Linked DNA regions of Homo sapiens: regions 1, 2, 3, 4, 5 and 7 are each linked to region 6. The links are contacts of gene promoters, found by promoter capture Hi-C in blood cells and fetal thymus (Javierre and others, 2016). All regions are on one chromosome and are shown on one strand. Each heading gives the region's core, a stretch centred on a gene start or on the middle of the fragment in contact. The rest is flanking DNA. Distances are from core to core; before and after follow the strand shown. Region 1 overlaps PITPNC1 (phosphatidylinositol transfer protein cytoplasmic 1). Region 2 overlaps PITPNC1 (phosphatidylinositol transfer protein cytoplasmic 1). Region 3 overlaps PITPNC1 (phosphatidylinositol transfer protein cytoplasmic 1). Region 4 overlaps PITPNC1 (phosphatidylinositol transfer protein cytoplasmic 1). Region 5 overlaps HELZ (helicase with zinc finger). Region 6 holds the start of PSMD12 (proteasome 26S subunit, non-ATPase 12). Region 7 overlaps HELZ (helicase with zinc finger).

Region 1 (3,195 bases), core at 595-3,094, 160 kb before region 6:
TTTAAATCTCGTATTGACTCTCAGACACAAGCAGCAGTTTCTCGTTTGGGGGAGGGAGAAGAGACAGAGAGTCCTTGAACCACGTGTTTCAAAATCTCCAGAGACACTCCTAAAAATGCTGAATCTCAGGTTGTTCCAGACCTTCTCCATTCAGACTCTGGGGAGAAAAGAGTGGGAATCTTTCAGAAATGCACATAAATGCTGAGAACCGCTGCAGCAGAACGTGGTGAAGGCAGCCATCAGCACTTGCTCAGCTGTAAATGTTCTGTCTTTAGGACGCTTGTTTCTTTTTTCCTCCTTTATACTGATTTCTTACAAAGCTCCATCCCTAACTTAGTGAAAATACCATATCCCTGACCACCAGCTCCAAACAAACTTGTATGTTGAATAAAGGCCACAACATCCAAAGACATAGAAAGATTCTAAAGCCTCCAAAGCCTGAGAATTGATCGTAGAATTGATGATGATGATACAGCATCACTTTATTGATTGCCCATTAGTGCAAGGCACTGATTAAGTGCTTTATATTTCTTTTGCCTTTCTTTTAAAAGAGACAGGGTCTGGCTGGGCGCAGCGGCTCATGCCTGTAATTCCAGCACTTTGGGAGGCCGAGGCAGGCGGATCACCTGAGGTCAGGGGTTCAAGACCAGCCTGGCCAACATGGCAAAACCCCGTCTCTACTAAAAATACAAAAATTAGCCGGATGTGGTGGTGCACGCCTGTAATCCCAGCTAATCGGGAGGCAGAGACAGGAGAATCACTTGAACCCAGGAAGTGGAGGTTGCAGTGAGCCGACATCACGCCACTGCACTCCAGCCTGGGCTACAGAGGGAGCCTTTGTCTCAAAAAAACAAAAACAAAAACAAACTAAGTAAATAAAATAAATAATTTAAAAAATTAAAAGCAGCAGGGTCTTACTCTGTCACCCAGGCTAGAGTTCAGTGGCATGATCATGGCTCACCTCAGCCTCGACTTCCTGGGCTCAAGCAATCCTCCTGCCTCAGCCCCTTGAGTAGCTGGGACTACAGAAGTGTGCCACCACACCCAGTTAATTTTTATTTTTTTACTTTTGTACAGACATGGTCTCATTATGTTAGTCTCCAACTCCTGGCCTTAAGCAATTCTCCCACTTTGGCCTCCTAAAGTGCTGGGATTACAGGCGTGAGCCACTGCACCCAGCCTATATTCCTTTTTTTTGTTTTTGAGATGGAGTCTCGCTCTGTCTCCCAGGCTGGAGTGCAGTGGCGAGATATCAGCTCACTGCAACCTCCACCTCCTGGGTTTAAGAAATTCTCTGCTCAGCCTCCTCAGTAGCTGAGGTTACAGGCGCCCACCACCACACCCAGCTAATTTTTGTATTTTTAGTAGAGACGGGGTTTCGCCATGTTGGCCAGGCTGGTCTCGAACTCCTGACCTCATGATCCATCCGCCTCGGCCTCCCAAAGTGCTGGGATTACAGGCATGAGCCATTACACCCGGCCGCCTATGTTCATTCTAATCTCTCAATGATTCAGACAAGTGAGTATTGACAGACGAGGAAGCTGAGTTGCAGACAGGTTGAAGACTGTATGTTACAGAGTTTCTAGATGTCAGAATTGGGATTCTGACCCCCCACAGGCCTGTACTCATTCTAGTCCACACAACTTCAGCCCTTATTTCTTTACCAAGTTAAATGCTTTAAAAATCTAGGCCTCGTGATGATTTAAAAAGAGGGGAGGGAGGTGGCAGAAAGCTACTGCCTCTGACCTTTGCTATTGCAGAAGATGAGTAACAAAAATCTGATTGAAAGATCAAAGTTGTTTAATCTGTGCACATGTAAGGAATGGTGGAGCAATTATGCTCTAACTTTGTAAAATCTATTGTTATAATTCCAGAGTTTGGGTAATCATCATTACAGGCAATCATGACTAGAGACAGTTCCATGCTGCAGACTGAACCTCCGTGAGTTATCATCAGAACAGCTACTCCAAATAATTACCTCCATAGTCAAAAACATCATGGGATGCAGATCTTTCCCCACACACCACGCTGTACACTTGATAGAGCTGCAAAATTGGAGGCAAGGCAGAGTTGCATAATGTACTGAAGAAGCTCAGCAGTTTCACTAGTTTGAACTTTTGCAAACTCTTACATGGGGCACCATCCAGTCATTTAACTTTTTTTTTTTTTTTGAGATGGAGTCTCGCTCTCTGTCGCCCAGGTGGAGTGCAATGGTGCAATCTTGGCTCACTGCAACCTCTGCCCCCCAGGTTCAAGGAATTCTCCTGCCTCAGCCTCCCAAGTAGCTGGGATTACAGGCACACACCACCATGCCTGGCTAAGTTTTGTTATTTTTTTAGTAGAAACGGGGTTTCACCAGGTTGGCCAGGCTGATCTCGAACTCCTGACCTCAGGTGATCCTCCCGCCTCAGCCTCCCAAAGTGCTGGGATTATAGGCATGAGCCACCACACCCAGCCAAGTCATTTAATCTTGAACCTTGAATTAAAAAGGCAACCCCAAGCCAAAACTTCTGAGTACAGTAAGGGATTATCAAATGAGTGCCAACAATACCTTCAACATCATCCATGCCTGAAGAAATACTGGATCCAAAGTTCTAGGGTCAGCAGAGCTCTAAGCTATCACTGATTTTCACTTCACCCTTCCCCAACTGCTGCGTCCCAGAGTTTCTGCAAAGCCAGCCTCCATAACCCCCTACCCTAAAGCACCTAGTGGGGGTCATCTTCCTACCAACCAATCTCTATGCCCTCCCTTCCTGTCCTCTTTCTTTCCCTCCATTAGTCCCAATACCATTTCCAAACGTCACAATGTGAACAGCGGGAACCATGGCTTTGCAACGTAGATTCCCAAATTGGGTGGTGGTAATCCCCGCCTGGGGACCTCAAGGCCCCAGGTCAGGAAACAGAATTTATATTTACTTTGGCCTTTACCATCAAAATGGGCGGACGCCATATCACCTAACAAGCACAGAGAAACACCTGTCCCTCTGATTTCACGTGAAATCACATATTTACCCAGCTGTGAAACGTGTGTGATTCCTGCCTCACACTGGCTATGTTGGAAAAGCAGAGAGTGATATCATTTGGCTTTCTTGGGAGTTTCCTGCATTCTTCACATCACCATTAATGCTTTTGTTGAAGCCTTTCTTCCAGCTTTCTCCGCTGTTACCTCTGCTGGACCTCAAAGCACAGGGAAGC
Region 2 (3,518 bases), core at 537-3,036, 130 kb before region 6:
CTTTCTGCACAATAGCTCATTTAATCCTCGTTAATTTAATACTCACTAATAGGTCAGTGTAATTATGATCACCTCCCTTGTACAGATGAGGAAACTGAGGCACCGACAAAGCAGAAGACCAAAATGACGAGAATTTCAGGCATGCTAGAATTTAGAAAGCTTACTTCCCTCAAACTTTTTTTTTTTTTTGAGACAGAGTTTTGCTCTTGTTGCCCAGGCTGGAGTGCAATGGCACAGTCTTGGCTCACTGCAACCTCCACCTCCCACGTTCGAGCAATTCTCCTGCTTCAGCCTCCCAAGTAGCTGGGATTACAGGCTCCCACCACCACATCCCGGCTCATTTTTGTATTTTTAGTAGAGACAGGATTTCACCATGTTGGCCAGGCTGGTCTTGAACTCCTGACCTCAGGCAATCTGCCCGCCTTGGCCTCTCAAATTGCTGGAATTACAGGCGTGAGCCACCGCACCCAGCCAGCCCCCAAACTTTTAATGTGGAAGTTACAAGAGGGTAACTTCCAAAGGGTAACATCCAAAAGGTTGCAAAATAAGGGAATGGAACAAAAAAGAGGAAGAAATAAATTTAATAAAATGTTGAGACAAGGCAGCGAAGGAGACAGGACAGGCTGGTAGATTGGAGCCAGATGACGATGGCTGAGAAGTAAGGAGATGTCATATAACCCGGAGTGCATCTACAGCACTAGGTGATGAAAGTGTATTTTTGGGGTCTATATGAAAAAGAAAGCAAGAAGGAATTCCAGGATAACACAAAAGGAATAGTCGATGGTAAATAAGAAAAGAGAATTCACTCGAACTGCGATGCATGAAATGCTATCCTCTAGGTGGCCTGTGGATTGTGGCATTGGTCCTATAGAGAAAGTAATAATATGACATTAGCACCTAGACCTGCAGTGGGCAATGTTTACACAGCGACAATAAATGTTGTTTACTGGTGTCCAACATTCAGAAATAAGCTAAAGATATTAAGATTAGAAAATGGAATAAATGGAATGTAACAGTTAAGAATCTTTCTTTTGGCCAGGTGCAGTGGCTCACGTCTTTAATTCCAGCACTTTGGGAGGCAGAGATGGGAGGACTGCTTGAGCCCAGGAGTTTGAGACCAGCCTGGGCAATATAGAGAGACCCCTGTCTCCACTTAAAAAAAAAAAAAATTTTGTCAAGTGTGGTGGTGTGCGCGCCTGCGGTCCCAGCTACTCGGGAGGCTGAGGTGGGAGGATCACTTGAGCCCAGGAGTTTGAGGCTTCAGTGAGCCGTGAGCCATGGGCCATGATCCGTGATTGTGCCACTGTACTCCAGCCTGGCTGACAGAGTGAGACCTTCTCTCAATTAAAAAAAAAAAAAAATCTTAAAAAAAAATTGAGATATAATTCAAACCATAAAATTTGTCCTTTTAAAGTGTAGAATACAGTGGGTTTTAGTATATTCATGAGGTTGTTACAACCATTACCACTATCTAATTTCAGAACATTTTCCTTATCCTAAAAAGAAACCTGGTGCCCATAAGCAGTTAATGGTATTCCTCGAGGCCCCTGGCAATGACTCATCAACTTTCTGTGCCTATCCTGGATATTTCATATAAATGGAATCATGTAATATGTGGCTCGTTGTGTCTGGCTTCTTTCACTTGGGTATGATGTTTTCATGGTCCATCCATGTTGTAGCATATATCAGAATTTCATACCTTTTTATTACCAGATAATAGCCCATTTATGGATATACCATATTCATTTATCCAGAATTTGGACAACGTAAAAGGGAGAAAAATGAAAGGGTAAGGCCTTAATGTTTTATTTAGAAAGGAAAGAGAATATTGCCGAAAACTGACAAAACAAGAAACAGAGACAGAAATGCAATAACTAGAGGTAGCTAAGAGAACTAAAACTAATTGTTTAAAATGATTAACCATCAGAAGAAGATAAGCTGAGAAGCAGTACAAGCAAACTAAATCCTCTGCAGCCTACTTATATATTCAAGGGGAGAAGATGGATAATTCTAAAACTGATACATTGAGAAAGAGCATACAGTATATGCATTTATTTAAAACGATGGAGGCTCACCAATGGAAGAACTAAGAACAGATGTACAGTCATGCATTGCTTAACGATGGGGATATGTTCTGAGAAATGTGTGAAATGATTCTGTCGTGCAAACATCATAGAATGTTCTTACACAAACCTAGATGGTGTAGCCTACTACGCACCTATGTTGCTTCTACACTACAAACCTGAAAAGCATGCTATTGTACTGAATGCTGTAGGCAACTGTAACATAACTATAAGTGTATGTGTATCTAAACACAGAAAAGGTACAGTAAAAATACAGCATTATAATCTCATAAGACCACCATCATATATGCGATCTTTCCTTGACTGAAATATTGTTATATGGTGCATGACTGTAATTGCCTCTGGGCAGTAGGAAGTAGGGAGGTAGCAGACCAGCTATTCAGGCCAAGGTCTTTACTTTGTTTCCTAAGATTCCTCAGGCTGGCCGGGCACAGTGGCTCATGCCTATAATCCCAGCACTTTGGGAGGCCAAGGAGGGTGGATTGCTTGAGCCCAGGAGTTCAAGACCAGCCTGGGCAACATGGTGAGACCCCTGTCTCTACAAAAAAATAAAAAAATTACACGGGCATGGTGGCACTTGCCTGTAGTCCCACCTACTCAGGAGGCTAAGGTGGCAGGATCACTTGAGCCCAGGAGGTGAAGGTTGCAGTGAGCTGAGATCACACCATTGCACTCCAACATGGGCAACAGAGCGAGACTCTGCTTCTCAAAATAAATAAAAACGGGCAAAGGACTTGAATAGATATTTCTTCAAAGAAGATATACGGGCTGGGCACGTGGCTCATGCCCATAATCCCAGCACTTTGAGAGGCTGAGGCAGGCAGATCACTGGAGGTCAGGAGTTCGAGACCAGCCTGGCTAACATGGTGAAACTCTGTCTCTGTTAAAAATACAAAAAAATTAGCCAGGCATGGTGGCGGGTGCCTGTAAGCCCAGCTACTCTGGAGGCTGAGGCAACAGAATCGCTTGAACCTGGGAGGCAGAGGTTGCAATAAGCCGTGATCGTGCTACTGCATTCCAGCCTGGGCAGCAGAGCAAGACTCCATCTCAAAAAAAAAAACAAAAACAAACAAAAAAAAAAACAAAGAAGATACACAAGTGACTAGTGAGTACATGAGTATATGAAATGATATTCAACACCACTAATCATCAAGGAAATGCAAATCAAAACCACAATGGGATATCACCTCACACTCGTTAGGAAGGCCACTATCAAAATAACAGAAAATAACAAGTGTTGGCAAGGACGTAGAGAAACTGGAATCATTGCACACCATTGATGAGCTTGTCAAGTAGCACAGCCGCTATGGAGAACAATACGAAGCTTCCTAACAAAATTAAAACTGGAACTACCACATGATCCAGCAATACCACTACTGGTTATATACCCAAAAGAGTTGAAAACAAGACCTCAAAGAGATATTTGCACACCCA
Region 3 (3,520 bases), core at 221-2,720, 210 kb before region 6:
AAATAAATTTGTCCATAATCTGCAACATGAACCAAATTGCTAACAGAAGTCATCTCTAAATTGTGGGATTGCTATTGGTTTTTCCTTTCTTTTTTCAATACTTTCTTTTTGCATTCTCCAAGTTTGAATAGCCATGTATTAACTTTTTTTTTTTTTGAGACAGAGTCTCGCTCTGTTGCCAGGCTGGAGTGCAGTGGCGCGATCTGCGCTCACTGCAACCTCTGCCTCCCAGGCTCAAGTAATTCTCCTGCCTCAGCCTCCTGAGTAGCTGGGATTACAGGCATGCGCCACCACGCCCGGCTAATTTTTTGTATTTTTAGTAGAGATGGGGTTTTGCCATGTTACCCAGGCTGGTCTTGAACCCCTGAGCTCAGACAATCTGCCCACCTTGGCCTCCCAACATGCTAGGATTACAGGCGTGAGCTACCGCGCCCAGGCTGCTTTCTAATCAGAAAAAAAAAAAAAAAAAAAAAAAAAAAATCACTATTTTACAAGGATTCAAGTTGAAACACAGTGTGACACTGTTTTAGGCATGGTGGTTTTGATGAATTTGGCCAGCAACGCGCCTGTGATTTCAGGCTGTGACAGGAAAATGGCCCTAAACATTTCCCATTGGGCTGCCACTTCAAGGAGACACTAACGATGGGGTTCCTGAACAGAGTGGTAGGATAGTACTGCTGCCAGCTGTATTTTTCTCTCCTCTGGGAAGTTCCATGAACTCTGGGGAAGCCCCGAAGCTTCTAGATCCAGGTTCTTCCTTTCAACGGGTCCTGAGGGAACCCACAGCCTAATCCCAGGTGAGGCTTTTGGTAGGTCAAAACAGTCACCCCCAAAGAAAAGAGAAGTTAGAAATTTACTGCCCAAACAGAAAGAGCCTGGGGGTAAAAGCCAGGTCAGAAGATGGGTTTTACCCAACACTAATAAGCAAAATACTTGGCTGAAATTTAGTAAAAGTCAGAATGCCTCAGGAGGTAAATATTTTGTGGGGGTACCCCCTGATTTTAAGGTAGGATGTGTGGGTGTATACATACACCGCATGTGTGTAAGTAAGCATGCATGCAGTATGCACACACATATCTGATTCTATTTCCTTTTCTCTTTTTTTATTTTTTTGAGATGGAGTCTCGCTCTGTGGCCCAGGCTGAAGTGCAGTGGTGCAACCTCGGCTCACTGTAACCTCTGCCTCCCAGGTTCAAGCAATCCTCCTACCTCAGCCTCCCAAGTAGCTGGGATTACTGGTGTGCACCACCACGCCCAGCTAATTTTTGTATTTTTAGTCGAGACAGGGTTTCGCCATGTTGGCCAGGCTGGTCTTGAACTCCTGATCTCAGGTGATGTGCCTGCCTCAGCCTCCCAGAGTGCTGGGATTACAGGCGTGAGCCACTGCACCAGGCCTGTATTTCCTTTTCTGTTCACACATACATCTGACTGTATTTCCTTTTCTGTGTACACATATCTTTGATTGTATTCCCTTTCCGAAGTAGATATTAATAGGCATTGAGAAGATGTGTACTCTGTCCAATGATCAAAAACCAAATCTTGGAGTTCCAAGTGCCCTGTCATCCTCTCCACCTCCATGACAATCACCCCAGGTCAGAGGCTTCTGCTCAGAGGCCCAGGGAAAGTACATAAAAATGAGAAGAAAGAAAAGCTAGACAACAAAAGAATTCCAGGGAAAAGTCCCAGGGAAATAACCCTCAGAAGCCAAAGGCCAGAACATCTCTGAGGTCCCAGGCACAGGTCCCACTGCTGGCCCTGGTCACAGAGGGGCTGTGAGAAGTGCTGTGATATTCAGAGCCCACGAGGCGAGCGCAGCATGGAAGGAGGGGCTACTCACGGTGTCATTGCTTCCTTTGTTGTCCTCATACTTGGTTTCTATATGAATGGAGAATTTCGGCAGAAAGGAACACTGTGGGAGAAAAGCAAATTTTCATTAGCATAACATTTTTTCTCTCTTCCTATATTCAGCAGAGCTTCTGAATACTTTCCTGGCCATTTGGTTGCAAGCACCGTCCCGGAACAGAAATGTTAAGATACTAAGTCAATATCCAAATTCAGACAAAGGAAAGCCGCCTTTAGGACAATGAACACAGTTTCATCCAGACAGAGGTCAGGCCACAGAGAATAACCAGCAGTAGAGGGCAAGTCCCTGAAGAGAACATTTCCAAAAGGAATATGTTCTGTGACTCCTAGCATAAGCTTTAGAAAAGCAAACCCCTAAATCACGCCAGTTCCAGTTCTGGTGAGCTTACTTTTGGGGAGCAGCTACCATTGCTGGATTCCTGGGGACCCAGCCTTAATCTTTATATAAATGCTCATATAACATTAGCAAGGGGATATAGTAGAACTTTAAAGTCATAGATTATTGAAGTCAGACAGACCTGGCTTTTATTTTTAATTTTTAAAACATAAATTTATTTTTAATTTTTAAAACATAAATTTATTTTTAAAGTAAAATAAAAAAAATTTTTAAATTTATTTTAAATTTTAAATTTTATTTTTAATTTTTAAATTTTATTATTTTTTATTGTTTTGAGACAGGGTCTTGCTCTGTCGCCCAGGCTGGAGTGCAGTGGTGTGGTCTCGGCTCACTGCAACCTCCACCTCCCAGGTTCAAGTGATTCTCATGCCTTAGCCTTCCGTGTAGCCCGGCTAATTTTTGTATTTTTAGTAGAGATAGGGTTTCTCCATGTTAGCCAGGCTGGTCTCGAACTCCTGAGCTCAAAAGATCTGCCCACCTTGGCCTCCCATAGTGCTGGGATTACAGATTACAGGCGCCCGGCCTTCTTTTTATTTTTATTTTTGAGACAGAGTCTTACTTTGTCACCCAGGCTGGGGTGCAGTGGTGCAGTCACAGCTCACTGTAACCTTGACCTATGGGCTCAAGCGATCCTCCCACCTCAGCCTCCCAGGTAGCTGGGACTACAGCTATAGGTGTGTGACACCATGCCTGGCGGATTTTTAAAATTTTTTTGGTAAAGGCAAGGGTCTCTCTCTGTTGCCCAGGCTGGTCTCAAATTCCCGGCCTTATGCGATTCTCCCGCCTCGGCCTCCCAAAGTGCTGGGATTACAGCCATGAGCCACTGCATCCGGGCGAGACCTGGCTTTTAATATGTAATTTGGATAAGTCATTTAACTTCTCTGAACCCCAACAGAGTTAAAACAGGAGTAATAATTATTACCTAAGAGCAACACTGTGAGGGTTAAATATTAATAAAATGATGTTTTAAAAATGTATAATACTGGGCAGCAAGAATGCATTCAGCAGACAGCATCCATGGGTAGAAACTGAACCAGAAAAGGCAGCCCCTGTCTTTGTCTTTGTCCACACGAGGGACAGAAACCCCAAATGCAACCCAGCCCTACAGCCCCAGTCTCGCTGAGTCAAGTCCTATGCATTCAGTAGATGTGAAGGGTTAAGGTGGCTTAAGAAGAGAATTTTGATGGATGTTGGTGTAACCACGCTCTAGCTAGCCCTAAGCTGGGCATTAACTTTCTTGGCCACCAGAGATGGGATTGA
Region 4 (3,499 bases), core at 61-2,560, 240 kb before region 6:
TGATTTTTGTTTTAAAAACCATTCATTGGCCGGGTGGCTCATGCCTGTAATCCCAGCACTTTGGAAGGCTGAGGTGGGTGGAACACCTGAGGTCGGGGGTTCAAGACCAGCCTGATCAACATGGAGAAACCCCGTCTCTACTAAAAATACAAAATTAGCTGGGTGTGGTGGTGGCACATGCCTGTAATCCCAGCTACTCGGGAGGCTGAGGCAGGAGAATTGCTTGAACCCAGGAGGCGGAGGTTGCGGTGAGCTGAGGTCACGCCACTGCACTCCAGCCTGGGCAACCAGGGCAACAAGAACAAAACTCCGTCTCAAACAACAACAAAACAACAACAAAACCATTCATCTATTGATCTGAGGAATCCAGAGTAAATTTCCTGGTTATATTGGTTTGGATAGCTGTCTGGACACAGAAGATGAAATCAACTTGACAGGTAATAGCAAAAGTCATTCATTTTGGTGAATTCTGCAAATCCAGACTAGTAGCATCCCAAGGATTCTAATAAAAGGATGGTCATTGCTGAAGTACCATTCAGTGCCCCAGTACTACAGGCACATGTGGCCTTACAGTCATGGGGAATAAGCTATACAATATATCTCATTCATCTATGCATCCCTCAGACCTTCTTCTAGTATCTCATACATTAATAGAAGCTTAACACTCAAAGTTTTAATTTTTATTTTTTGCTGTTGTTGAACTGAACTGTTAGACTGAACACCAGGTATGTTGAATTTTAACATTACCATTTATTTCCTAGTAGTTTACTCATTTTGTTTGCCAGCAGATGACATCTTGTTAGCCAACAAGTAGCAGCAGATGTCAAAGTTTAGAAAATAATATTTTTTTCTTTTCTTTTTCTTTTTTTTTTTTTTTTGAGACAGAGTCTCACCCTGTCGCCAGGCTGGAGTGCAGTGGCGCAATCTCGGCTCACTGCAACCTCCGCCCCTCGGGTTCAAACGATTCTCCTGCCTCAGCCTCCCGAGTAGCTGGGACTACAGGCGCATGCCCCAGTGCCCAGCTAATTTTTGTATTTTTGGTAGAGATAGGGTTTCACCATGTTGGCCAGGATGGTCTCAATCTCTTGACCTTGTGATCTGCCCACCTCGGCCTCCCAAAGTGCTGTGATTACAGGCGTGAGCCACCACGCCCGGCTAATGTTTGTATTTTTAGTAGAGACAGGGTCTTGCCATGTTGACCAGGCTGGTCTTTAACTCCTGACCTCAAGGTGATCTGCTGGCTTCAGCCTCCCAAAATGCTGATGTGTGCCGGCACCACGCCTGGCCCAAAGTTTAGAAAAGAATTTGTAAGAGAAAAAAGTAAAAATCAGATGAAGCCCATTTACTAAGTTTATTTATTTATGCAAATTAGGAAAAACAATTTCCAATGTAATTTTCGGAGCGGAATCCCTTGAATCAGAGATTATTTTGAGAATCTTGCCTCAGTGCCAAGGACCACAGAGCCTGAGGGGCAGCTTAAGTTCCTTGCACAGAACAGGCCCTTCCAGCAGGTTCTAGATAGTGCCTCCGGTGCTTTCATGCGCACACAACACCTGGGAAATCTTGCTTGCTTAGATTCAGGTTCCGATTCAGTGGGTCTAGGGTGGGGCCTGAGATCCTAACAAGCTCCCAGGTAATGCTGGCACTTAACACTCTCGTATCCTGACCTGATATTTTGGGCATATTATGTTTGAGGCAGGGAGCATGGAATAGCGGAACGACAGAGGAAAGTAGTGGCCGGGCGACAGAAGGTCTTGGGTGCCAGTCACTGTGAAAATGATCAGATTTGAAGTCTACGTGGATTCCCTGGGCAGATAGCTCTGTGGGAGATATGGGTTTAGTGTGAGATTGCTCTAGAAAAGAAATAAACACCTTAACTAGGGCCATGGTAGCCGGAATGGAGAAGTAGGATGGATGTAATATTTAAGAGGTAAAACCATCCAAATGGAATGCCCAAGCTTGGGTACAAAAAGCAAACCTGGATCCAAGGGATGTGGCTTTTTTTTTTTTTGGAATTGGATCTAACCAGATCCAATTCTGCTGTGAATGACCCCGTGAGGGCTTCATCAACAGTTTGCCGGACTCAGAGCACAGGATAGAAAGAGTCCACTGTCGCCTCTGCTTTGGGATTCTTCCTGCTCTCTCTTGGGGTGACTTTTCAGCACAGGCAGCTGTCCTTTTTTCTCCAGTGCTTAGAAGAACATGACTGGCTGGGTGCGGTGGTTCACGCCTATAAACCCAGGACTTTGGGAGTCTGAGGTGGGCGGATTACCTGAGGTCATGAGTTCGAGACCAGCCTGGCCAACATGGTGAAATCCCGTCTCTATTAAGAATACAAAAGTTAGCCGGGCATGGTGGCGCATGCCTGTAATCCCAGCTACTTGGGAGGCTGAGGCAGGAGAATCACTTGAACCCGGGAGGCAGAGGTTGCAGTAAGCCGAGATTGCGCCATTGCACCCGGCCTGGGCAACAAGAGTGAGACTCTGTCTCAAAAAAAAAAAAAAAAAAAGGAAGAAGAAGAAGAACATGACCAACTCTCCCACCAGGCCTCCGACACCAGCTCTGTGATGAACACAGCTTGGGAAACCAGGGGAGGCTAAAGTCTTCTCAAAGGCCAGAAAATAAAATACAGGGAAGGCTGTGCACAGTGGCTCATGCCTGTGTTCCCAGCACTTCGGGAGGCTGAGGCAGGAGGATAGTTTGAGCCCAAGAGTTCGAGACCAGCCTGGGCAACATAGGAAGACCCTGTCTCTACAAAAAATAAAAATAAATAAATAAATAAATAAAATCACAGGGAAGCCATGCATGTTGGGGAAAGGATATTCTGAAAGTCCACAATGACTCAGTATTGCTAATACAGAATTCCTGCCAAAGATGCACAGTCTGAATCTAATCATGAGAACACAATGGGGAAAACCCAGCAACAAGGACATGCACAAAACCAGCCAGTGTTCTGCAAAATGTCAGTGTCACGAGAGACAAAGAAAAGCTGAGAAACAGGCCGGGCGTGATGGTTCATGCCTCCCAACGCTTTGGGAGGCTGAGAAAGGCACATCACTTGAGCCCAGGAGTTTGAGACCAGCCTGGGCAACATAGCAAGACTTCATTTCTACAAAAAAAAAAAAAAAAAACTAGAAAAACTAGACAGGTGTGACGGTGCATGCCTGTAGTCCCAGCTGCTCGGGAGGCTGAGGTGGGAGGATTGCTGGAGCTCAAGAGGTGGAGGTTGCAGTGAGCTCAGATCGCACCATTGCACTCCAGACTGGGCAACAGGAGTGAAACTCTGTCTCAAAAAAAAAAAAAAAAGCTGAGAAACAGCTCCAGATTAAAGAGGAGACTAAAGAAAGTGACAATTAAATGCAATGTGTGAGCCTCTACTGGAACATGAATCATGAATGTTTATTTATTTACTGATTTAACTTTTAAGAGATAGAATCTCACTATGTTGCTCAGGTTGGACTTGAACACATGGGCTCAGGCCATTCTCCTGCCTCAGCCT
Region 5 (3,308 bases), core at 308-2,807, 160 kb after region 6:
TTTAGTAGAGATGGGGTTTTGCCATGTTGGCCAGGCTGGTCTCGAACTCCTGGACTCAGGTGATCCACCTGCCTCAGGCTCCCAAAGTGCTGGGATTATAGGCTCGGCCTTTATTTTCATTTTAAATTCAGTTTCTGAATTGTTAGTTCTGAGAGCATGATTATATCTAAGCAGTGAGTGATTTTATATCATTACTGACTAAAGGATTTAGTTTGTATGGTAATGAAAAAAATTTTTAGGAAAGTTTTTGGAAAAAATACCTTCATTAGGCTAAGCTCTTTAATAAAACACTTCAGAAGTAACTAAGGATTTGATAAAAGAAATAACCTAGGCTGGGTGTAGTGGCTCACACCTGTAATCCCAGCTCTTGGGGAGACTGAGGTGAGTGGATCACCTGAGGTCAGGAGTTCGAGACCAGCCTAGCCAACATGGTGAAGACCTGTCTCTACTAAAAATGCAAAAATCAGCCAGGTGTGGTAGCACGTGCATGTAATACCAGCTACTGGTGAGGCTGAGGCAGGAGAGTCGCTTGAACTGAGGAGGCGGTGGTTGCAGTGAGCCTAATCATGCCACTGCACTCCAGCCTGGGCAACAAAGCGAGACTCCATCTCAAAAAAAAAAAAAAAAAAAAAAAAAAAGGCCGGGCGTGGTGGCTCATGCCTGTAATCCCAGCACTTTGGGAGGCAGAGGCGGGCGGATCACTTGAGGTCAGGAGTTCGAGACCAACCTGACCAACATGGAGAACCGCCGTCTCTACTAAAAATACAAAATTAACCATGGGTGGTGGCGCATGCCTGTAATCCCAGCTACTTGGGAGGCTGAGGTAGGATAGTCGCTTGAACCTGGGAGGCAGAGGTTGCAGTCCGCTGATATCATACCACTGCACTCCAGCCTGGGCAACAAGAGCGAAACTCTGTCTCAAAAAAAACCCAAAAAAACAAAAAACAAAAAAACCCGGCATAGTGGCTCACGCCTGTAATCCCAGCTCTTTGGGAGGCTGAGGCGGGTGGATCACCTGAGGTCGGGAGTTCAAGACCAGCCTGACCAACATGGAGAAAGCCCGTCTCTACTAAAAATACAAAATTAGCCGAGTATGGTGGCGCATGCCTGTAATCCCAGCTACTCGGGAGGCTGGAGGCAGGAGAATTGCCTGAACCTGGGCGGCAGAGGTTGTGGTGAGCCAAGATCGCGCCATTCCACTCCAGCCTGGGCAACAAGAGTGAAACTCCGTCTTAAAAAAAAAAAAAAAAAGTCCTAATATGGTCATATTACTGAAAACAGTAGAGAATATGTACTCAACATTTACTATAAGCTTGTTTTAAGATTACTTTCCTTATATTAGGTAATTCTTTACAAGCAAAGGGAATTGCATTTTAATTGTTAATCCTTGCCTTGTGATAGCCAGAGGCTATGGAACCCCAGCAAAGATGTATTTTGCTAAAACAGTTGAATGAATATTACTCCTTTAAGTCTACTCAGTTTCTAATCCAAAACATTCTAAGTAAGACATATTTCAAGTGTTAGAAAATATCACAAAAAAGATACACAGCGAGCTGACAGAAGTCCTCCTTTGTAACTCCTAGTGAACAGAAAGGAACAATTCAGTTTGAGAACAGTTGTGTGCGCACAGTACACTCTCACACATAGTTGATGGGAAGAGAATTTATCTGCAAGGAGCTGTAACTTTTTTATAATTGTTCAAGATTGTATTATTAATGTCATGTCTTTTGGCAAGTTCAGTTTTTATAGCCGAGACAAGTTTAATAATACAGTAGGCCATACTTTTTTTCCCCCAAGCTTTTTCAAGGTAATAAGGAACTAGATTGGCAGCATTGCAATTTAATTTTGTTATACGATACAGTAGCAGGAGAGGTTTTTATCTATAGTTATTGACTATTTCTATGCCATAGTTTTTTATATGGGATCCTCCCATACATAAATTGAATTTCATTTAAGGGGAACAGGAAGAAAGTATGTCAGTACTGCTTCTTGTCTGAAAAAGAGATGGAAAAAAGGGAAACATAAATTTGACAAATATTAAGATATTCATACAGCAATGTAGTGGAAGAAACTTGCAAAATGAAATTCAGCAAATACCTCATACAAAACCAAAGATCTATGAAACCTGTTTGTAAAATGTTATGTGATTTAATACTCTTTAAGTATGACATCATCATATGAAGTTGAAATACTCTTAGACTTTTTCATTCCTGCAAACATTTTTCAGCTCTTGACAACTAGTTTCTTAATATCCCAGTTACTAAAAATGAACTAAGATATTTCCTCAGCAGTGCTCAGTACTGCTGTAAAATTTTTAGAAGGGGAAGGTAATATGTAGGGAATTCTTACTTATGCAGGAGACTGCTAGTTACTTTTCTAATTAGCATAATTAATCTTTACCACAACCTTATGAAGTAGCTACTGTCACCTCCGTTTGATAGGGGAGGAAATAGGCTTAGCGATGTAACTAATCCATACCTTAGTAGGAGTGTCATTTTTCTTCAGAGCAATTTTTTTTTTTTTTTGAGACAGTTTCGCTCTTGTCCCCCAGGCTGGAGTGCAGTGGTACGATCTTGGCTCACTGCAACCTTTGTCTCCTGGGTTCAAGCGGTTCTCCTGCCTCAGCCTCCCGAGTAGCTGGGATTACAGGTGCCTGCCACCATGCCCGCTAATTTTTGTATTTTTAGTAGAGACGGGGTTTCACCATGTTGGCCAGGCTTGTCTTGAACTCCTGACCTCAGGTGATCTGCCCGCCTCGGCCTCCCAAAATGCTGGGATTACAGGCATGAGCCACCATGCCTGGCGAGAGCATTTTACTTGTATTGTTTCATTTAATCTTTAATGGCAAATTTATACGTGTTTCTGTTTTACAGATGGCCACACTGAGGGTCAGAGAGATAAGTAACTTGCCCAAGGTCAGATTTGAAGAGTTTTAGGAATAGTAAGATCTGAGGGAGATGAATACTTACCTTGGAACTTTATAAGACACTCAAGACATTCTTAATGATACCTTATTGGAGTTTTTCACTTGATAACTCCTTATTGGAGTTTCACTAGATAACAGAATTATCTAGTGACTGTTGAATAGATGAGTGATCTGTAATATGGATGGATTGAAACAATAGATTCGTCCAAACTAAAAATAATTGAATAAAACCCTGTCAAATACAGAGAGACTGCAACTTTCAATTTAGTAAATTCAATAAAAGGTATATGTAAAGATTTTTATTATGGCATTATTTTTAATAGTTAATAATTGGAATTATTATCTTATAAGGGAAGGGTTAAATAAGTTGATGTATCTACTT
Region 6 (3,239 bases), core at 606-3,105:
GGTGCGTGCCATGACGACTGGCTAATTTTTGCATTTTTAGTACAGACGGGGTTTCGCCATGTTGGTCAGGCTGGTCTTGAACTACTGGCCTCAAGTGATCCACCCACCTCAGCATCCCGAAGTGCTGGGATTATAGGCATGAGCCATAAGACCCATCTGATGGACTATAAAATAAAAAAAAAACAATAAGAGCTTTACCAAGAAGTGGCTTGTTGCTCACCATTTTGGAAAATGTCACCAACAATAGGCCCTTACCATGCTTCAGGAACCAAGAGAACACACCTGTTGCAGTTGCAGCTTTTACATTTATAGTTATTGTGTATGGGTGTAAATAACTACTTCCTTGTATTTTCCACTGTAGACATGTTTTAGCCCTTATCTCTTGAAATATATATTATTTTGCTATTTTAAAATTTGTTTCTTGGTTGGGCACAGTGGCTCACACCTGTAATCTCAGCACTTTAGGAGGCCAAGGTGAGAGGACTGCTTGAGGCCAGGTGTTTGAGACCAGCCTGGGCTACGTAGTATAGCTGCTATCTCTACAAAAATAAAAAAAAGGTAAAATTTGTTTCTCCTCTACATTACAGATTATAGCTGAGATATTGTCTTATTTTGCTTGTAGATGGTTTATATTTTCCCTGATTTTCATTGCAGTTAAAACAAACAAAGAGATCTATTCAGCATCTATAAAGCGATGTCGGCACTAATTAAATTGAGAACCACTAACATAATAGATAAACCACTCCAAGATTTCCCGTTTTCCTGTTTGCTTTCCAGGCTGCTGTTGACCATATGCCCACACCAAACACAACCTCATTCCCATTTTCTTTACTTTTCTTTTTCTTTTTTTTTTTTTTTTTTGAGACGGAGTCTTGCTCTGTCGCCCAGGCTGGAGTGCAGTGGCGCAATCTCGCCGGCTCACTGCAAGCTTCGCCTCCTGGGTTCACGCCATTCTCCTGCCTCAGCCTCCCGAGTAGTTGGGACTACAGGTGCCCGCCACCACGCCCGGCTAATTTTTTGTATTTTTAGTAGAGACGGGGTTTCACCGTGTTAGCCACGATGGTCTCGATCTCCTGACCTCATGATCCGCCCGCCTCAGCCTCCCAAAGGGCTGGGATTACAGGCGTGAGCCACCGCGCCCGGCCTCATTCCCATTTTCAAGGATCCTAAGCTTTTTTAAGATCTCAAGCTATTTTCTAGGGACCAGCATGGTATGAATGATAACACATAAAACGTGTAAGGCCCTTAAGAATTGAAATTGTCTCACATGTCATCTAGTTTGATGCTCACGAAAATCCTATAGGGATAACAAATATGTCTTTTTAACTTTTCTTTTTACCAACTTAGTGGATTACAGTGAAAATGAAAACAAAGAGAAAAACCACTTTGCTTATTAAATGACTGAGCTGCTGCCATATCTTCTCTTAGGAGCTTTCAGAGATCCCACAGAGTAAGCCACCAAGATTCTCAAGTAGATAAAACCTTAGAATTTTCTATTTTAAGGTTTATTTTAGCCTCCTGATGTAGAGATGAGAAAACCGAGATCCAAGAAAAGCGACTGGCCACGGTCCTGAGAAATCATATTTCGAAGCAGGGGTGTAGGGATATATGAGATGGTCTGTTCTATTACACTCGCTTTTCTCATCGCAAATTTTAGGTAAAAAGTCTGATGTTCCCAGAGACAAAACCTGACGCTGCAGGCTGGAGTGGCGAGTCCCGCCCCGCGCGCCTCAAGCCCCACCCCCAGGCTGTCCGCGGCAGTGCCTGAGTGGCAACCAGCGCCGGGGACCTCGAGGGGTCCTTTGCGTGGGCTCCCGATGGGCTGCCTGAGCGGGTGCGCGGGCAACTTCCGGTGTGGGTGACGAGTGGTGGCCGAAGCAGGGGGACAGCAAGGGACGCTCAGGCGGGGACCATGGCGGACGGCGGCTCGGAGCGGGCTGACGGGCGCATCGTCAAGATGGAGGTGGACTACAGCGCCACGGTGGATCAGCGCCTACCCGAGTGTGCGAAGCTAGCCAAGGTGAGGAGAGGCCGGCTGGCTGTTGGCGGGCGCCAGGGGCTGAGTCACGGCGCGGAGCCTGCTTAGGCCTCAGGGGGCCTGCGGGCTGGAGCGTGCACCCCCCAATGCCTGTCCAGCCCTAGTTGGGCCTGCACGAGTGGGAGACCCCAGGTCGGCCCGGCCAGGGCTGCGGAGTACGCCAGCGCCTATAGCTTCCCAGACCCTCCCCAAAACAGATGGTCACTTCCCTCCGTGGGACTTAGGGCTCCGTTTAACTTTTTGCCGTTTCTTGGATGCTGTTTAAGTGATATTTACCTTAGTAGTTTCCCAGGGGTTAAGGCCGCTTCAGTATTAAGGCTAGATCAGAGAGTTTCGTTCTGTTGCTGTTGCTCAATCAATTTATGTCGTTACATCGTTTGTGGATCATGGCTATGTGCCTGGTCTTTGGCCAGGAGAAGGGGCAGGAAAGTGATAGTACGAAGATGACTAACACAGGACCCTGTCCTTTAGGAGTTGATGTACGTGATGAATTAGTCAAGTCATGCATGGTGGTGAGGGCCATACAAGGGGAAAGTGTTACTGGAACACCGAGAAGGAAGCTATGCATTCTTAATGGTGCCATAAGGGAAGGTTTTACAGGAAGGCTGACGTTTGTATTGGGTCTTGAGGAATTAGTAAGATTGAGGTGGGGTGGAGTCATTACTGAAGACGGAACTACAGAAGTAAAGACAAGTAGGCACTATAAGAGTTTAACGGGCTTTCCAAGAAACAAGGATGGAGAAAGGTGATAAAGTTGGTACGTATGTATATCTTAGGTTCAGTATGCTTGCTGAGGGGGAGCCACAAATTCATTAAGAGCTTTCTAGCAGCTAGCATCAACAAACATCAGTTACATAAGGGTGGGAAAACTCAGCCGCCTCCAATGCCAGACAGATAACAATAACTGATATTTGTTGAGTAGTTTCTGCAGTGTCAGGCACCGTGCTTACATGCACTAAGCCATTTGATCCTCACCTCAGCCCTATGCGATGGCTATTACTATTATCCTTATTTTACAGGTAAGAAAACTTGGGCTAGAAAAAGTTGAATCACATGCCCCAAGATCATACAGCTAGTAAAGTGGTGAAGCCAAGAAGCAAACCCAGGCAGACCGATTCTAGATTCTGGAGCTGGTGCCCTCACACACCATGCTGTCCTGCCTAGAAGCCTATTGTAGTGAAAACCTGAACTTTTTTTTTTT
Region 7 (3,530 bases), core at 998-3,497, 200 kb after region 6:
TTTCATGGGAATGGTAGAATAAAGTAGCCTTTAACTAGAGATTAGGTAACTTACAAATATGTCAATTTCTTAATATGTAAAATGATGTTAATAATAGTATATATATATCATTGGTACTATTAAATGAGATAATCCATAGTAAAGTACTTGTTACAGTGCCTGGTTATAAATGAACAAAGCAAATATTATTCATCATAATTATGATTAGACTATGATTATACTTTAAAAGAATCTCTAAACTTACTGTCCCAAACAGATTCCTCCCAAAGTATTCTAGTGAGCTGCCAGCATTGATGTTTGCTTTCATGCAGTTTTTAAAACATTCATTTTGTCTTTCAGGTTGAACTTCAGTTTCAATTAAATCGATTACCCCTCTGTGAAATGCACTATGCACTAGACAGGATCAAGGACAATGGGGTTTTGTTTCCAGACATCAGTATGACTCCCACCATACCATGGAGTCCTAACAGGTACAAAAAGGCGATATCTTATTAAAGGAAGTTAGGTTAATATTAAATTGAATATCTGTATCAAATAACTCAAGCATACTTTTATAAGAAAGTTTGCCTTTGCTTTTCAGGAGATATTGGTTTAGAAAGGAGAGTAAAAGAACACTTAAAATGAAACATTTGAGGTTCATCATTACTTTTTCTCAGAGTCTAAATGAATTCTACTGCTTTTCTCAACAGCCTTAATTTGATAGGATGCCAAGCAATTTAGGAATATTTCCAAGTAGAAGTTGAATGGGGAAATTAGGGCCTTTCTAAAGTGGTTCCAGTAGTTAATTTAAAATAATTTTTATTTATTTATTTAGAGTTGGGGTCTTGCTCTGTCATGCAGGCTGAAGTGTAGTGGCATGATCATTGCTCATTACAGCCTTGAACTCCCGGGCTCAAGCAACTCTCCTGCCTCAGCCTCTGAGTAGCTAGGATTATAGACACATGCCACTGTGTCTGGCTGATTAAAAAAAATTTTTTTTTGTAGACAAGGTTCTTGCTGTCTTGTCCATGCTGGTCTCGAAATCCTGGCCTCAAGAGACCTTCCTGCCTTATCTTGCCAGAGTTCTGGGATGTGAGCTACTACACATGTCCTAATTTAAAATAATTTTTAAAGATAGGAGAGATTTTTAGAAATTATCAAAATGGATGAAGTACGATAGAAGAAACTACTTCAGAAACTGCTCTCCAGTTAATGGTCGTATAAATATTGTTCTGCTTAAATTTTTTTGGGATGTCTTTACATGTAATGAAGAAGGTACTTCCATTTTGTTATAAGCATGGATGACAGTGAGAGCTGTATGCCTGCATCTGTCTTTTCATCTCTTCACTGGGTTTTATGCCCTTAGCACCTGCCCATGCTCAACTCACAACACCTTTGTTTCTTTTTTAATCTCAGTGGCTCTACAAAATAGAAGTTTATTTATCACTGTGTCAATTCAATCATGGTAGGATGGCCCTTTCCAAGACTAATGGAGCCTCTGGGATCTTTAGTAAGTGGTTTCCAGGGTCACCCTGGGTGTTGACGTTCAGCTGGCCGACAGGGGAAGAGTGAGCACGGAGGGTCACGTGGGAAGCTTTTATGGGCCAGGCCTAGGAGTGGTATATATCACTTCCCCTCACATTCCATTTCTTCTGGTCCTAAAAACAGAACAACACGAAATATGCGTTACAACACAAAACCTCAGTCATTTCTCCCTTGTTTTGCTTACTCTTACTGTGCAGTCCCCTCTGTTCTTTTTAGTGCCAAAATTCTTGAGAGGGAATAGTCTGCGTGTTTCCAGTATTCTTTCTTATTCACTCTGTAACCTCTGTTTTCCTCTTGTGTACTATCCTGAAAGTGATTGGTGATCTACTGATTGTAAAAATCCAGTGACATCTCCCAGTTCTCTTCGGATTCAGCTCCTCTTCATGCTTCCTTTTCTTTTCATTCTCAGAGCCAGTGCTGCTTTTAGACCCGGACTATTTCAGTAGCTTTCTAGTTGGCCTTTTGTCCTGTTGTCTGTGGCCCTGTTTTCTGGCTCATCACAAATATTTCTCCCAGAGTTAGTTTTCTAAAATAATCATGTCATTTCACTGCTCACAAATCTGATGGCTTCTCCTTGATATGTAGATAAAGGGTGAGCAGTCTAAGCCAAAGCGCCTGTGTATGGCCTCGTTGACTGTGCTTTCCAGCAGTATCCTTTCAGATTTCTTCTACTTTTTTCTACTTGACACTCCTTTTCTCCCTCTAAACTCTCATGTTTTAGCAATGTTGAATTACCTTGAAGTTTGTTTAATTTGCCCTGTACTTATTTGCCTCCTTATCTTTATGTTATTCTTTTTAAAAAGTTTTTAATTGTGGTAAAATCCACATAACATAAATGTACCCTCTTTACCATTTTAAGTGTACAATTCCATAGTGTTAAATATAGTCACACTGTTGTGCAATCTCCAGAACTTTTTCGTCTTGCAGAACTGATACTATACACCCATCGGACAACTCATTTCCCCCTTCCTGCAGCCTTGCCTCCTCTTTAAGTGATTTTCTGTCTCTCATATAATCTTTGCCCAATGTTAATTCACTGAAGATCTCTCTATCCTTTAAGATTGAGTCCAGCTCATATGCTCTCTTCCTCAAGCAGATGAACCTGACCCTTCCATGTCAATATTTTAACAACTATTTATTGAGTGCCTGACATGCGCTAGGCTCAGTTTTGTGTTTTCAAGCATAATTTCTCTCAGTTTATCAATTAATTCGTGAACATTTCTAGACAGTTTTTCTGGGTAAACTCTGAGCTTTGTACAGGAAGAGACTGCGTCTTATTTTTCTTTGAATACCAACAGGGTTTTACATATTATTCATATTCGGCACATTTAAGTTCATAAGAATTTCGAGTTTAAAGAAGAAAAGTTTCAATTGTAAGGCCATACCAGTAAGCTTTTAGGCATTTTTCTTGATATGCTCACTTCTGAAAATTACATTGTATATGATGTAGTATATTTAAATACTACTGACTGTAAGTTTTAACTGCAAAAGTAAGCAAACTTTCAAGCAGGAAAAGATTTTTATACCACTGTAATTTAAATAGCAATTAAAAGGTATCTGGGTCTAGGAACATACTGAGAAACTATTAGTTGTAATGGTAATGGGCTCACACCTGTAATCCCAGCACTTGGGGAGGCCGAGGTGGGAGGATTGCTTAAGTTCAGGAGTTAGAGTCCAGCCTCAGCAACATAGACCCCATCTCTATACATAAAGAAATAAATAGGTTGGGTGCGGTGGGTCACGCCTGTAATCCCAGCACTTTGGGAGGCCGAGGTGGGTGGATCACGAGGTCAGGAGATCGAGACCATCCTGGCTAACATGGTGAAGCCCCATCTCTACTAAAAATACAAAAAAAAAATTAGCCGAGCGTGGTGGTGGGCACCTGTAGTCCCAGCTACTCGGGAGGCTGAGGCAGGAGAATGGCGTGAACCCTGGAGGCAGAGCTTGCAGTGAACCGAGATCGCGCCACTGCACTCCAGCCTGGGCGACAGAGCGAGACTCTGTCT

What was found. Contacts are between HindIII fragments. The CHiCAGO score rates a contact against its expected background, and 5 or more counts as called.
Region 1: a contact is called between a fragment that was not itself captured here and the fragment with the promoter of PSMD12 in region 6, in 3 of 17 cell types (total CD8 T cells, naive CD8 T cells and naive CD4 T cells). The highest score is 7.9, in total CD8 T cells.
Region 2: a fragment that was not itself captured here is called in contact with the fragment with the promoter of PSMD12 in region 6 in 3 of 17 cell types (total CD8 T cells, M2 macrophages and naive CD8 T cells); the score reaches 8.0 in total CD8 T cells.
Region 3: a contact is called between a fragment that was not itself captured here and the fragment with the promoter of PSMD12 in region 6, in 9 of 17 cell types (total CD8 T cells, naive CD4 T cells, activated CD4 T cells and 6 more). The highest score is 13.3, in total CD8 T cells.
Region 4: a contact is called between a fragment that was not itself captured here and the fragment with the promoter of PSMD12 in region 6, in 11 of 17 cell types (naive CD4 T cells, total CD8 T cells, naive CD8 T cells and 8 more). The highest score is 25.1, in naive CD4 T cells.
Region 5: a fragment that was not itself captured here is called in contact with the fragment with the promoter of PSMD12 in region 6 in 1 of 17 cell types (M2 macrophages); the score reaches 6.1 in M2 macrophages.
Region 7: a fragment that was not itself captured here is called in contact with the fragment with the promoter of PSMD12 in region 6 in 2 of 17 cell types (monocytes and M2 macrophages); the score reaches 7.7 in monocytes.

The regions. Positions count from the first base shown.
Region 1 is chr17:67,525,709-67,528,903 of GRCh38, reverse strand. All of the region lies in intron 1 of PITPNC1 (phosphatidylinositol transfer protein cytoplasmic 1), which reads right to left. Among named protein-coding and RNA genes, the nearest start is that of MIR548D2, 56 kb to the right of the region's middle. The HindIII fragment of the contact is 7,724 bases long and covers 1-3,195 here.
Region 2 is chr17:67,498,505-67,502,022 of GRCh38, reverse strand. All of the region lies in intron 1 of PITPNC1 (phosphatidylinositol transfer protein cytoplasmic 1), which reads right to left. Among named protein-coding and RNA genes, the nearest start is that of MIR548D2, 29 kb to the right of the region's middle. The HindIII fragment of the contact is 3,249 bases long and covers 162-3,410 here.
Region 3 is chr17:67,576,575-67,580,094 of GRCh38, reverse strand. PITPNC1 (phosphatidylinositol transfer protein cytoplasmic 1) reads right to left here. Exons shown (of 9, transcript NM_012417.4): 5 at 1,838-1,909. Among named protein-coding and RNA genes, the nearest start is that of MIR548D2, 110 kb to the right of the region's middle. The HindIII fragment of the contact is 1,462 bases long and covers 740-2,201 here.
Region 4 is chr17:67,608,299-67,611,797 of GRCh38, reverse strand. The region is part of intron 5 of PITPNC1 (phosphatidylinositol transfer protein cytoplasmic 1); the gene reads right to left. Among named protein-coding and RNA genes, the nearest start is that of NOL11, 110 kb to the left of the region's middle. The HindIII fragment of the contact is 1,301 bases long and covers 660-1,960 here.
Region 5 is chr17:67,204,542-67,207,849 of GRCh38, reverse strand. The region is part of intron 5 of HELZ (helicase with zinc finger); the gene reads left to right. Among named protein-coding and RNA genes, the nearest start is that of HELZ-AS1, 39 kb to the left of the region's middle. The HindIII fragment of the contact is 485 bases long and covers 1,315-1,799 here.
Region 6 is chr17:67,365,193-67,368,431 of GRCh38, reverse strand. It overlaps PSMD12 (proteasome 26S subunit, non-ATPase 12), which reads left to right and starts at 1,855. Exons shown (of 11, transcript NM_002816.5): 1 at 1,855-2,020. The coding sequence starts at 1,913. RefSeq lists enhancers at 1,650-1,959, 1,980-2,039. The HindIII fragment of the contact is 3,672 bases long and covers 1,174-3,239 here.
Region 7 is chr17:67,163,418-67,166,947 of GRCh38, reverse strand. HELZ (helicase with zinc finger) reads left to right here. Exons shown (of 33, transcript NM_014877.4): 15 at 340-470. Among named protein-coding and RNA genes, the nearest start is that of HELZ-AS1, 80 kb to the left of the region's middle. The HindIII fragment of the contact is 1,343 bases long and covers 1,576-2,918 here.